Regions from separate parts of the Homo sapiens genome. Here all the other regions are linked to region 3. Evidence: promoter capture Hi-C in 16 types of primary human blood cells and fetal thymus (Javierre and others, 2016). All regions are on one chromosome and are shown on one strand. The core of a region is centred on a gene start or on the middle of the fragment in contact, and the rest is flanking DNA. Distances in the headings are between cores, read along the strand shown. Region 1 has its middle 20 kb from the start of NTN1. Region 2 overlaps PIK3R5 (phosphoinositide-3-kinase regulatory subunit 5). Region 3 holds the start of NDEL1 (nudE neurodevelopment protein 1 like 1).

The links. Contacts are between HindIII fragments. The CHiCAGO score rates a contact against its expected background, and 5 or more counts as called.
Region 1: a fragment that was not itself captured here is called in contact with the fragment with the promoter of NDEL1 in region 3 in 3 of 17 cell types (total CD8 T cells, total B cells and naive B cells); the score reaches 6.5 in total CD8 T cells.
Region 2: a fragment that was not itself captured here is called in contact with the fragment with the promoter of NDEL1 in region 3 in 9 of 17 cell types (naive CD8 T cells, monocytes, naive CD4 T cells and 6 more); the score reaches 8.7 in naive CD8 T cells.

The regions. Positions count from the first base shown.
Region 1 is chr17:8,999,704-9,003,010 of GRCh38, reverse strand. No RefSeq gene overlaps it. Among named protein-coding and RNA genes, the nearest start is that of NTN1, 20 kb to the left of the region's middle. RefSeq lists a silencer at 1-3. The HindIII fragment of the contact is 4,981 bases long and covers 1-3,307 here.
Region 2 is chr17:8,954,895-8,958,075 of GRCh38, reverse strand. The region is part of intron 1 of PIK3R5 (phosphoinositide-3-kinase regulatory subunit 5); the gene reads left to right. Among named protein-coding and RNA genes, the nearest start is that of PIK3R5, 9.2 kb to the left of the region's middle. RefSeq lists enhancers at 2,393-2,892, 2,893-3,181. The HindIII fragment of the contact is 2,450 bases long and covers 281-2,730 here.
Region 3 is chr17:8,433,977-8,437,228 of GRCh38, reverse strand. NDEL1 (nudE neurodevelopment protein 1 like 1) reads right to left here and starts at 1,345. Exons shown (of 9, transcript NM_030808.5): 1 at 1,184-1,345. RefSeq lists silencers at 792-1,031, 1,072-1,271, 1,372-1,541. The HindIII fragment of the contact is 3,991 bases long and covers 127-3,252 here.

The sequences.
Region 1 (3,307 bases), core at 4-2,503, 570 kb before region 3:
TCGCGGCTCCTCGCCCCGCGGCCACCCGGCTCCCCTGCCCATCGCGGGCAGAACACCAGCCTCCCGCTCGCACCCTGCGCCCCGCCGCTCGGGCTCCAGTGGAGCTGGGCCAAGATAGGATGCGTGTAACTTGGGACACACAACTATCCAACAGAAAGCCACCCAACCTACACACTCTAGCTTTGGTTTGTCTGGGAGTTGCAGGGGTCTTTTTGTTTGTCTGTTTGTTTGACCGAGTGCTGGGGGTAAAAATGGGGAGGAGAGAGCTGAGAAGTCTGACCCAAGGACGTGCGATCATGTCCCCACTGCCATCACCAGCGACAAACCTCAATTCCATGCTAACTGGTCTTTTTGCCCTTCATCCAAGATGGTCTGCTGACACGCCTCCCCCAATGACCATTAAAATGACTGAAGAGATAAAATAGAGGGAGAACTGTCGCCACTTAACACTAGGGGAATGCGTCATTCACACTCCTGAAACTTAGAAAAGTTTAAGAGGATCCGAGGGATGGCTGAAGGAACTCCACATTCATCAGGCGAGAAGCAGGAGCCGGCCTGGGAATCCCCAGCACAACACTCCCCCGGCGCGCCTCCTCCAAGCTCTGGGTACGTGTGACAGTTCACCCGCGAGGCCGGCGCCTGGGAATCTCTGCCGAGCTTAAGGCTGCTGGAGGACACAGGTTTGCCGGCATAAACTAGGATCCTAGCTTCAGGCCATTATTAAAATTTTACATCATATGCTTGCTCTTTGAAGAATCATTTTTTGACATTGGCATTGTGATTTCAAACTACGTTCATAATTAACTCAGTTTTTCTCTTTTTTTTGGTAGTGGGTGTGTGTGGGGGTGGGGGGCGGTGGTGGCGCAGGTGTGTGTGGGGGCGGGGGGCGGTGGGGGCGCCGGGCCCTGCTCAGTCATCCTGGCTGGAGTGCAGTACAGTGGCGGGATCATGGCTCACTGCAGCCTTGACCTCCCAGGCTCAAGAGATCCTCCCATCTCAGTCTCCCGAGTAGCTGAAACCACAGGTGCATGCCACCACGCCCGGCTAATTTTTAAAACACTTTTTATTTTGTAGAGACAAGGTCTCAATGAGTTGCCCAGGCTGGTTTGGAACTTCTGGCCTCAAGTGATCCTTCCATCTTGGCCTCTCAAAGTGTTGGGAATACAGGTGTAAGCCACTGCACCCAGCCTTCTAACTCAGTTTTTCTGCCTACATTGTTTATTGTCATTTCATTTACGTAAATGACTTCCTCATTCCTGAGTTCCTTACTTTGATTAATTTCTCACACCACTGAAATGCTACTTTGAGTAAACCTTGGGGGAAGGGTGGATGGACGGTGGATTTTTTGAGTCTTCGCATGTCTCAGATTGTCTGTTACTTTATACACAGACAGTAGTTAGATATAAGAGTCTAGGGTCATAATCCTTTATTTACACTTCAACTCTCTAAAATAGGCATGTTGCTAGCATTAAACAGGGAAGCAAATGTAAAGCACTTACCGTGTTCTGCACCTAAGACGTAGTAGAGGATCCATGACTAACTATTTATGACTATCCTTTATTAGTTATTGATTCATTGTCTGTCTTGTGCTTTTTTTTTTTTTTTTTTTTTTTTGACAGGGCCTTGCTCTGTCCCCAGGCTGGAGCTCAGTGGTGCGATCGCAGTTCACTGAAGCCTTGAACTCTTGGGCCCAAGGGATCCAAACCTTGGTCCAAGATGGTCCACTGACACACCTCCCCCAATAACCATTAAAATGACTGAAGGAATAAATAGAGAACCGTCGCCTCCTGTGTAGCTGGGACCACTGTCATGCCTGGCTAATTTTTCAATTTTTTTGTAGAATCAAAAAATCTTTTTGATTCTTTCTTTTCTTTTTTGATGGAGTCTCGCTCTGTTGCCCAGGCTAGAGTGCAGTGGCGCTATCTTGGCTCACTGCAAGCTCCCCTTCCTGGATTCACGCCATTCTTCGGCCTCAGCCTCCCAAGTAGGTGGGACTACAGGCGCCTGCCACCATGCCCAGCTAATTTTTTGTATTTTTTTTTTTTTTTTTAGTAGAGATGGGGTTTCACCGTGTTAGCCAGGATGGTCTCGATCTCCTGACCTCATGATCCGCCCGCCTCAGCCTCCCAAAGTGCTGGGATTACAGGTGTGAGCCACCGCACCCAGCCTTGATTCTTTCTTTGTTGCCCAGGCGGTCTCAAACTCCTGGACTCAAGTGGTCCTCCTGCCTCAGCCTACCAAAATGTTGGGATTACAGGCATGAGCTGCTGCACCCAGCATCTTCTGGTTTTATGGTTAAAGAAATTTCTCCTAGGTTTTATAGAAGACTCTCTTTCTCTATCTCTCTTTTTATGCCATCTGGCTTTAATTTCCTTTCTTTCTTAAAAGAAAAAAAAATCTATAGGTTCTGTTACTGCCTCCTTTACTAAGTGTGACCTTGAGATAGTTTCTTATTCTCTTAACACGTTCGTTGCTTCTCCTATAAAATGAACAAATTGGACCACATGGTTGTTGTGGTACCATCCAGCTTCAATAGGCTGGGTGTTTATTTGCCTATGATTAAAAAGCAACAGCCCTGCCACAATGAAAAACCAATTCACAATGATTAGGATGGCTGTAATAAAAAAGACAGATAATAACAAGTGTTGGCGAGGATATAGAGAAATTGGAACCCTTATACCTCGTTGGTAAGAATGTAGACTGGTGCAGCCATTGGAAATACTCTGGCAGTTCCTCAAAGGTTAAATGTAAAGTTACATATTTACATATGACCCAGCAACTGCAATGCTAGGAATACATCCAAAAGAAATGAAAACACATGTCCACACAAAAACTTATACACAAATGTTCATAACAGAATTATTCACAATAGCCGTAAACTGGAAACAACCCAAATGTCCATCAACTAATGATTGGATAAATATAATGCAATATATCCATACGATGGAATATTATTCAGCCATTAAGAAGAATAAAGAATTGATACATGCTGCAAAGTGGATGAACCTTGAAAACATTATGCTAAGTGAAAGGAGCCAGTCAAAAAATACGACTGTGGGCCGGGTGCAGTGGCTCATGCCTGTAATCCCAGCACTTTGGGAGGCCGAGGTGGGTGGATCACGAGGTCAAGAGATCGAGACCATCCTGGTCAATATGGTTAAACCCCACCTCTACTAAAAAATACAAAGATTAGCTGGGCACGGTGGTGCGCGCCTGTAGTCCCAGCTACTCAGGAGGCTGGGGCAGGAGAATCTCTTCAACCTGGGAGGCGGAGGTTGCAGTGAGCCGAGATCACGCCATTGCACTG
Region 2 (3,181 bases), core at 256-2,755, 520 kb before region 3:
GCCTCCCAAAGTGCTGGGATTATAGGAGTGAGCCACCGCATCCCACCTTTCTTTAGGATTTTTGCATGAAATGAATTTGACCTCTATTTTCCTTTTCTGTGCTGCCGTTGTCAGTTTTTGATATACTGACTTTGCAAATGATTTTGGAAGCACGTTACCTTCTCCCACGCCCTGTGACAGCTTATAGAGCGGGGAATGAGCTGCTCCTTGGAAGCTGGGAGAACGGCTCCAGTCTTGAGGTCTTCCACTGTGGGATTCTTGGCTTCCCACTCCCCAAGCTTCCTTCTCTTCTCTCTTCCTCAGTCCTCCCAGGTACAAATCTGTAAACCTCAGAGCTCCCAGGCTCATGCCCGAGAGCCATCTTTGATTCTTGGCTTCCAATGTTCAGCCACTAGGTCCCATGGGTCCTTACTTTATATGCCCTTCAGCTAACAAGCATGCCTATTTCCACACTGAACTGGGCATATCCACCTTGAGTGAATTCCAGGTGCTGCATTTGGAGGATGCTGAGCAACCACTTCATATCCAGAGATAGGTGACCAGGATAGCGATGACAGAATATGAAGTAATTAAGAAGTAGCGAGGTTTTTCTCCAAGAAGAGAAGACAGAGGAGAAGTAGTATCTGTCTTCAGATGTTTGACGAGCAGTGTCCTTTGAAAAAGGTGAAGACTTCTCAACTGGGTGTCATTCTCTGGAATGGAAAAGGGATGACAGAAGGAAAATTGTAAGAAAATAGACTCCAGCTCACTAGAAGGAAGATCTCAGAGAAATTCAGAGCAGGTCAACAGTGGAATGGGAGGCTTCGTGGTGGCTAGTTTCCCGTTGGGGAAGTATGCAGGGAAAATACATGTTATATATTATGGAAATGATAGCCGTGAGAAAGGAGACCAATATAGCTTATTTTTAAAGAGCCTGTAGTTCTCTAAATCATGGTGGCCATGTCTGACTGGTTGTGTAAACGCTGGTTGTTCTGAGAACATGATTTGAGTTTGAGTAGTTCAGTGACCTTGAATAAACAGGTCCCAAAGCTGGGCAGTTTGCTCAGAAACCCCACAGCCCTGCTTCACAGCCCGTTCTCCGCAGCAGAAGCACCTTGGCTGTGAGAAAACCATAGCCATTCATGGATACTGGGATCCTCGCCCACATCCTCTGCTGGGAGCATGGGCTTTTCTTGAGGTCTCTTGTTCTTGGCTCCTTCTGATACTTGGTAAAATAAACTAATTGAACACCATTTCAAAATTGCCTTCCTCCGTGAGTGTCCCAGATAAGATCTTGGGGCCAACCTATCTCACCTCCAGGTTGAGCTGGGAATTGATGTCCTCTTGTTCTTGGGGTTTTCACGTCAATGTTTCATAGGTCTTTGCACTGTGCATTCACTTCTGTACCATGTTGAGAGTTTCATTTTGAGAAAACGAAAAGCTCTGCGCTCTCCTTGGCCTGTTATTGTGCTTAAGAGAACACAGGGGGCTGTGATGTGATGTACGGGCTACAGGATGGGAATAGGAGATGTAATCTCTAGTCCTGGCCCCTAATTACTTCCTCATCTTGCTGAGTCTGTTTCCTCCTGGACCAACTGGACTCTATGATTCTGACCACCTGGGAGTTTTCAAAGCCTGCTCTCCAAGAGTTTTCTTGTGGGAGCTGCTCTGATGGGCTGAGCAGAGAGGGGACCTGCTCCTTCCCTCATGGTGCCACCTTATGACAGGACTCCCAGTGACTATGAGTCCCTCTTCAGACCTCAATGGCAGAAACCCACCCTCTAGCCCATGCTTCTGCTGGAAGGCTTCCTTTCAGGTCACTGGTGGCTCTGGAATGGCAAGTTCCAATAGTCTCTTCCCAACCTGCATCTTTTTTTTTTTTGAAGTCTCCATAAAGTCTGATGCCCGACAAATTTTTGTTTTATTTTTTATTTTTGAGAAAGGGTCTCACTCTGTCACCCAGACTGGAGTACAGTGGCACGATCACAGATCACTGTAGTGTCAACCTCCCCAGGCTCAGATGATCCTCCTGCCTCAGTCTCCTGAGTAGCTGGGACTACAGGTGTATGCCACCACGCCCAGCTAATTTTTTGTGTGTGTTTTTTGTAGAGACAGGGTCTCACTATGTTGCCCAGGCTGTTCTCAAACTCCTGGGCTCAAGTGATCTACCTGCTTCGGCCTCCAAGTACATGCGGGTTATTTTCACTTGATGCCCTATTTCAACTTGAGCAATATCCAGAGCCCAACTCTGCATCCACAAAGCAGGCTTCCTGTGCAGACTTCCCCATTTCTGTCTCTGCTGAAACCAGACTCCCAGCCTTGAAACCTTGGACTCATCTCCGAGTCCTCCCTCCATCTTCCTTGTTCCCCACTCCCCAGCCCGTTTTGATGGTGCTTCCTTTCTCCATGGCTCTTGTTTCTCTCACTTCCCCATTGTTCTCTCTCCTACCCAATTTGGCTTTATTTACCATATGCCTCTGGTGGGCCTTTTGGACCACAGGCTCTTCCTCTCTTCACCAGGAGATTCTTCTTATGAAAACTTCTATGTCACTGTGTTCAGATACTTTGATGGCACCCCACTGCTTAGGGAGAGTCCAGAGTCCTTAGTCTTCTGTTCAGGTTTCGAAGTTGAGTCCCACTCCTTTCTCCACGAATCATCACGCTCTCCTCCAGCCAGACTGCCTGACTCAGTTTTCCCAAGACCTAACGTGTGTTCTTGCCTCACTCATCCCCTTCCCAATGAGGGAAGCTTTCCAATCATTTTGTTCAGTGCTGACTCTCCAGTGCCTTGCAGGGGCCAGCACTTGTCATTCAATCAGTGCTTGCTGAATGAGTGATTGCCTGGTCGAGCAGCCAGCATGGAAGAGGCCCGGGCCTCAGCCTTGGATGACTGATGATCGGGCAGGCTGGGCTGCTCCCCATCTGAGACCTCTGTGGGGTTCGGTCATCCTCCCCTCAAGGACCCTCCAGACATATCACTGGTCTTCTGTGCACAACTGCAAGGGCTTCAGACACCAGTGGCTTTGTGATCCACTGTGGGACAAGGCAGGTGTCCTCCTCTGGGCTGCTTCAGACCCCTGAGCCTCTGGCAAACTCCAGATGCAAACTCCAGGTGCTGAGAACCCTCTGCTTGGGAATCTTTTTTTTTTTTTTTTTTTTGAGACGGAGTTTTGCTCCTGTTGCCCAGACTGGAGTGCAGTGG
Region 3 (3,252 bases), core at 96-2,595:
ATAATTCAGAAGAAATACTTCACTTGGTTTCCCTTTACTTCTCTTCAGCCCATGACTTAACGCTGCACTGTGCCCATCAACTTCACGATTTAGCAAAGCAATTAACCAGCAACTCCTGAACAAGCTTCACAGGAAGATTTTTCTCATGACTGAGCAGCCGTTTTTATCCTAGGTGAGTTTTCTCAAAAATAATTGAGTAAGTAATCTACCAGCTTCTGGCATATCTTTGGCAAGTCACATTTTCTGCCTTGTTTTGTAGCTGAGAAGGGTATAAAAATCCCACGAAAAGAAACCAGAACTCCGAGCCTAGAAATGTAAATTATGATCCAAGCTAAACCACTCACCAGTTGGTTGAACCTAAGTATAAATAATTACCCCCATCCCAGCTCCATTTACCCATCGAAATGGCGATAACATAATCAGTTGCAACCACAAGGTGATGCGGTTAGAAAAAGATAGGAAGAAGAGTGCTCTGAAACGTGTAAAGGTGCTACGTAAATAGAAGGTAATAATCAGTGGTGACAGAACTCTCACCTCCTTTGCAAAACTTAAAGGGTCATCTCATGGCTTACAGCAAGAAAAGAGTCGAGCACAAGTAACCCGAGCCCGTTGGTGACACTTTGCCGAACTCCAGGGGGAGGATGATTAGCAGTTCCGGGCGGGAGTCAGGAGAATGCCAATCCGAGCCCAACGTGGGCTGCTCGCGCTCTCGCCCCCCATGGGAGAGAGGCACTGAGAGATCAAAATGCAACCCCGCTCCAAGCCACCCTCGCAAATGAAGGAATTTCGAAGAGGGGGTAGGAGGAGGCGGGCTGGGCGCGCCGCTGCCACCTCCGACTGGGCCACTCCTTGCGCCGCCAGCGCCCCAGCCCACGGTGCCACGTCCCGGCCTCCGTCACCGCCAGCCCTCACCCTACCCGGAACGGGGCACATCTTCCGGAGGCCACCGGAATCGTTCCCTTGCAGGCGCCCCTGGGGGGCCACACATCGGACCAGGGAAGGGAGGGGACAGTTAGAGCGGTTGGAACAGTTGCCCCCAGGCTGGCCGCCCCGGAACCCGGCCCGGCCCGCCCCGGCGGAGCCTCAGACACGGCCCCGGGCCGGGAAGGCTCCCCAAGGGCAGGCCTCGGCGCCGCCGGCCCAGCGCAGCCCCTTAGGGAGCGGCCCCGCGCTGCAGGCTCACCTCCAATGTGTCAAAAGCGCATGTTCGCCGCCGCTCAACCGACGTCTCCCCTCCGCCGGCCCGGCCAGGCCCGCCCAGCCGCTCGGCTCAGCTCCCCTACGCAGCCCCGAGCTCCACTCAGCGTACCTCCGCGCCCGGCTCCTCCCCGACACGTCAGGGACTGCCTGGGTGTCCGAGGCCATTCTGTGACGCACGGGGGCGGGGCTCGGAGCATGCGCGGCAGCGCACGGGTATGCGGGGCGGGGTGGGGCGGGGCTGGTGTCACAGGGGGCGGGCCAGAGCCCGGCGCGCTGACGCCAAGCTGACGGCGTCCTCTTGCGCAGGCGTCCTCTTGCGCAGGCGCTCCTGGACTCTGCGACCGGCTGGTTTTGGCTTGTGCAGTTCCCTGAAACTGCTATTCGGGAGAGTGGTGCCAAGACGGATGGGAACCTGCCTTCAGTTTTCTGGCCACCAAGGCCCTTCAAGTGTCCATGTGTCTGTGTTCCCGTTTATAAAATGAATCTCGGCTCATAGTTCACCTCCGAGTCCATTCCCCCTGCTCGAACACCCAATGGAACATCAGGAGCATTCTAAGCATCACTCTCACAAAGCTCTGTGTTGTTTTTACAGAACTTCCACTGTTTACATTTTGTATTTGTTCTCATCTTCCTCCAGTAGAATTCTAAGTTCTATGAGAGCTAGAACCTCTTATGCCTTGCTCATCCCAACAGATAACTTGGTTCTAGGCAAAGTGGACGCTCAAATATTTGATGAATGAATGAATGGATTCGTTGGCACAAAGGGGATTTTATATTTGCCCATTTATATATTGTATATATCTGAGCATATATTCATTTTTGTATACATGCGTGTACGTGTGTGTATGGGTGTGACTTTCTCCCCTCCAGGTCCCCCAAGAAATGGAGTCCTATGTGTATATATATACCTCTTACAATCCATCTTGGTTTTTGTTTGTTTGTTTGTTTGTTTGTTTTTGAGACGGAGTTTCGCTCTTGTTGCCCAGGCTGGAGTGCAGTGGCGCGATCTCGGCTCACTGCAACCTCCGCCTCCCAGGTTTAAGCAATTCTCCTGCCTCAGCCTCCCTAGTAGCTGGGATTACAGGCGCCTGCCACCACGCCCGACTAATTTTTGTATTTTTAGTAGAGACGGGGTTTCACCATGTTGGCCAGGCTGGTCTCGAACTCCTGACCTCGTGATCCGCCCGCCTCGGCCTCCCAAAGTGCTGGGATTACAGGCGTGAGACACAGCGCCCGGCCCCATCTTGCATTATTAATGTTTATATATTTTTAGTACGTAAACACACACGTGTATGTGTGTGTGCGCGCGTGTGTATTCCCTAGCGGACTTGGAAGCAAGCTGGAGACGATACTAGCCCAAAAAGGAGGGAAAGAGGGATAGGCAACTTACATAGGGAGTGGAAACTTAAAGGAAGAGATACATTTTAAAAACAATTTTAAGAACTTTTGCTGTATAATGTACAAGGTAATCCTTTCCTTTAGGAGATGGGGTCTACTGTGTTGCCCAGGCTGGTCAAGAACTCCTGACTTCGGCCAGGCGCTGCAGCACTTTGGGAAGCCGAGGCGGGCAAATCACCTGAGGCCAGGACTTCGAGACCAGCCTGGCCAACATGGTGAAACCCTGTCTCTACTAAAAGTACAAAAATTAGCCAGGCATGATGGTGGGCACCTGTAATCCTAGCTACTCCGGAGGCTGAGGCAGGAGAATCGCTCGAACCCGGGAGGCGGAGGTTGCAGTGAGCACCACTGCACTCTAACCTGGGCGACAGAGTGAGACTCCGTCTAAAAACAAACAAAACAAAACAAAAAAGAACTCCTGACTTCAGGCAATCTTCCCACCTCAGCCCCCCACAAAGTCCTGGGATTACAGGCACCAGCCTCCATGCGGCACGCAATGTAATCCTTTCCAATTTCAGTGCTTTTAGGATTGGATTTGTGGGTGTGAACACAAAAATAATGTGTAAGACATGCCTCAAGGTGAAAACAAAGTGAGCCTAGGAGGCCCAGTTTATATTTTTGAGGGCGATGGACATAAACAGGAACAATGCAAGA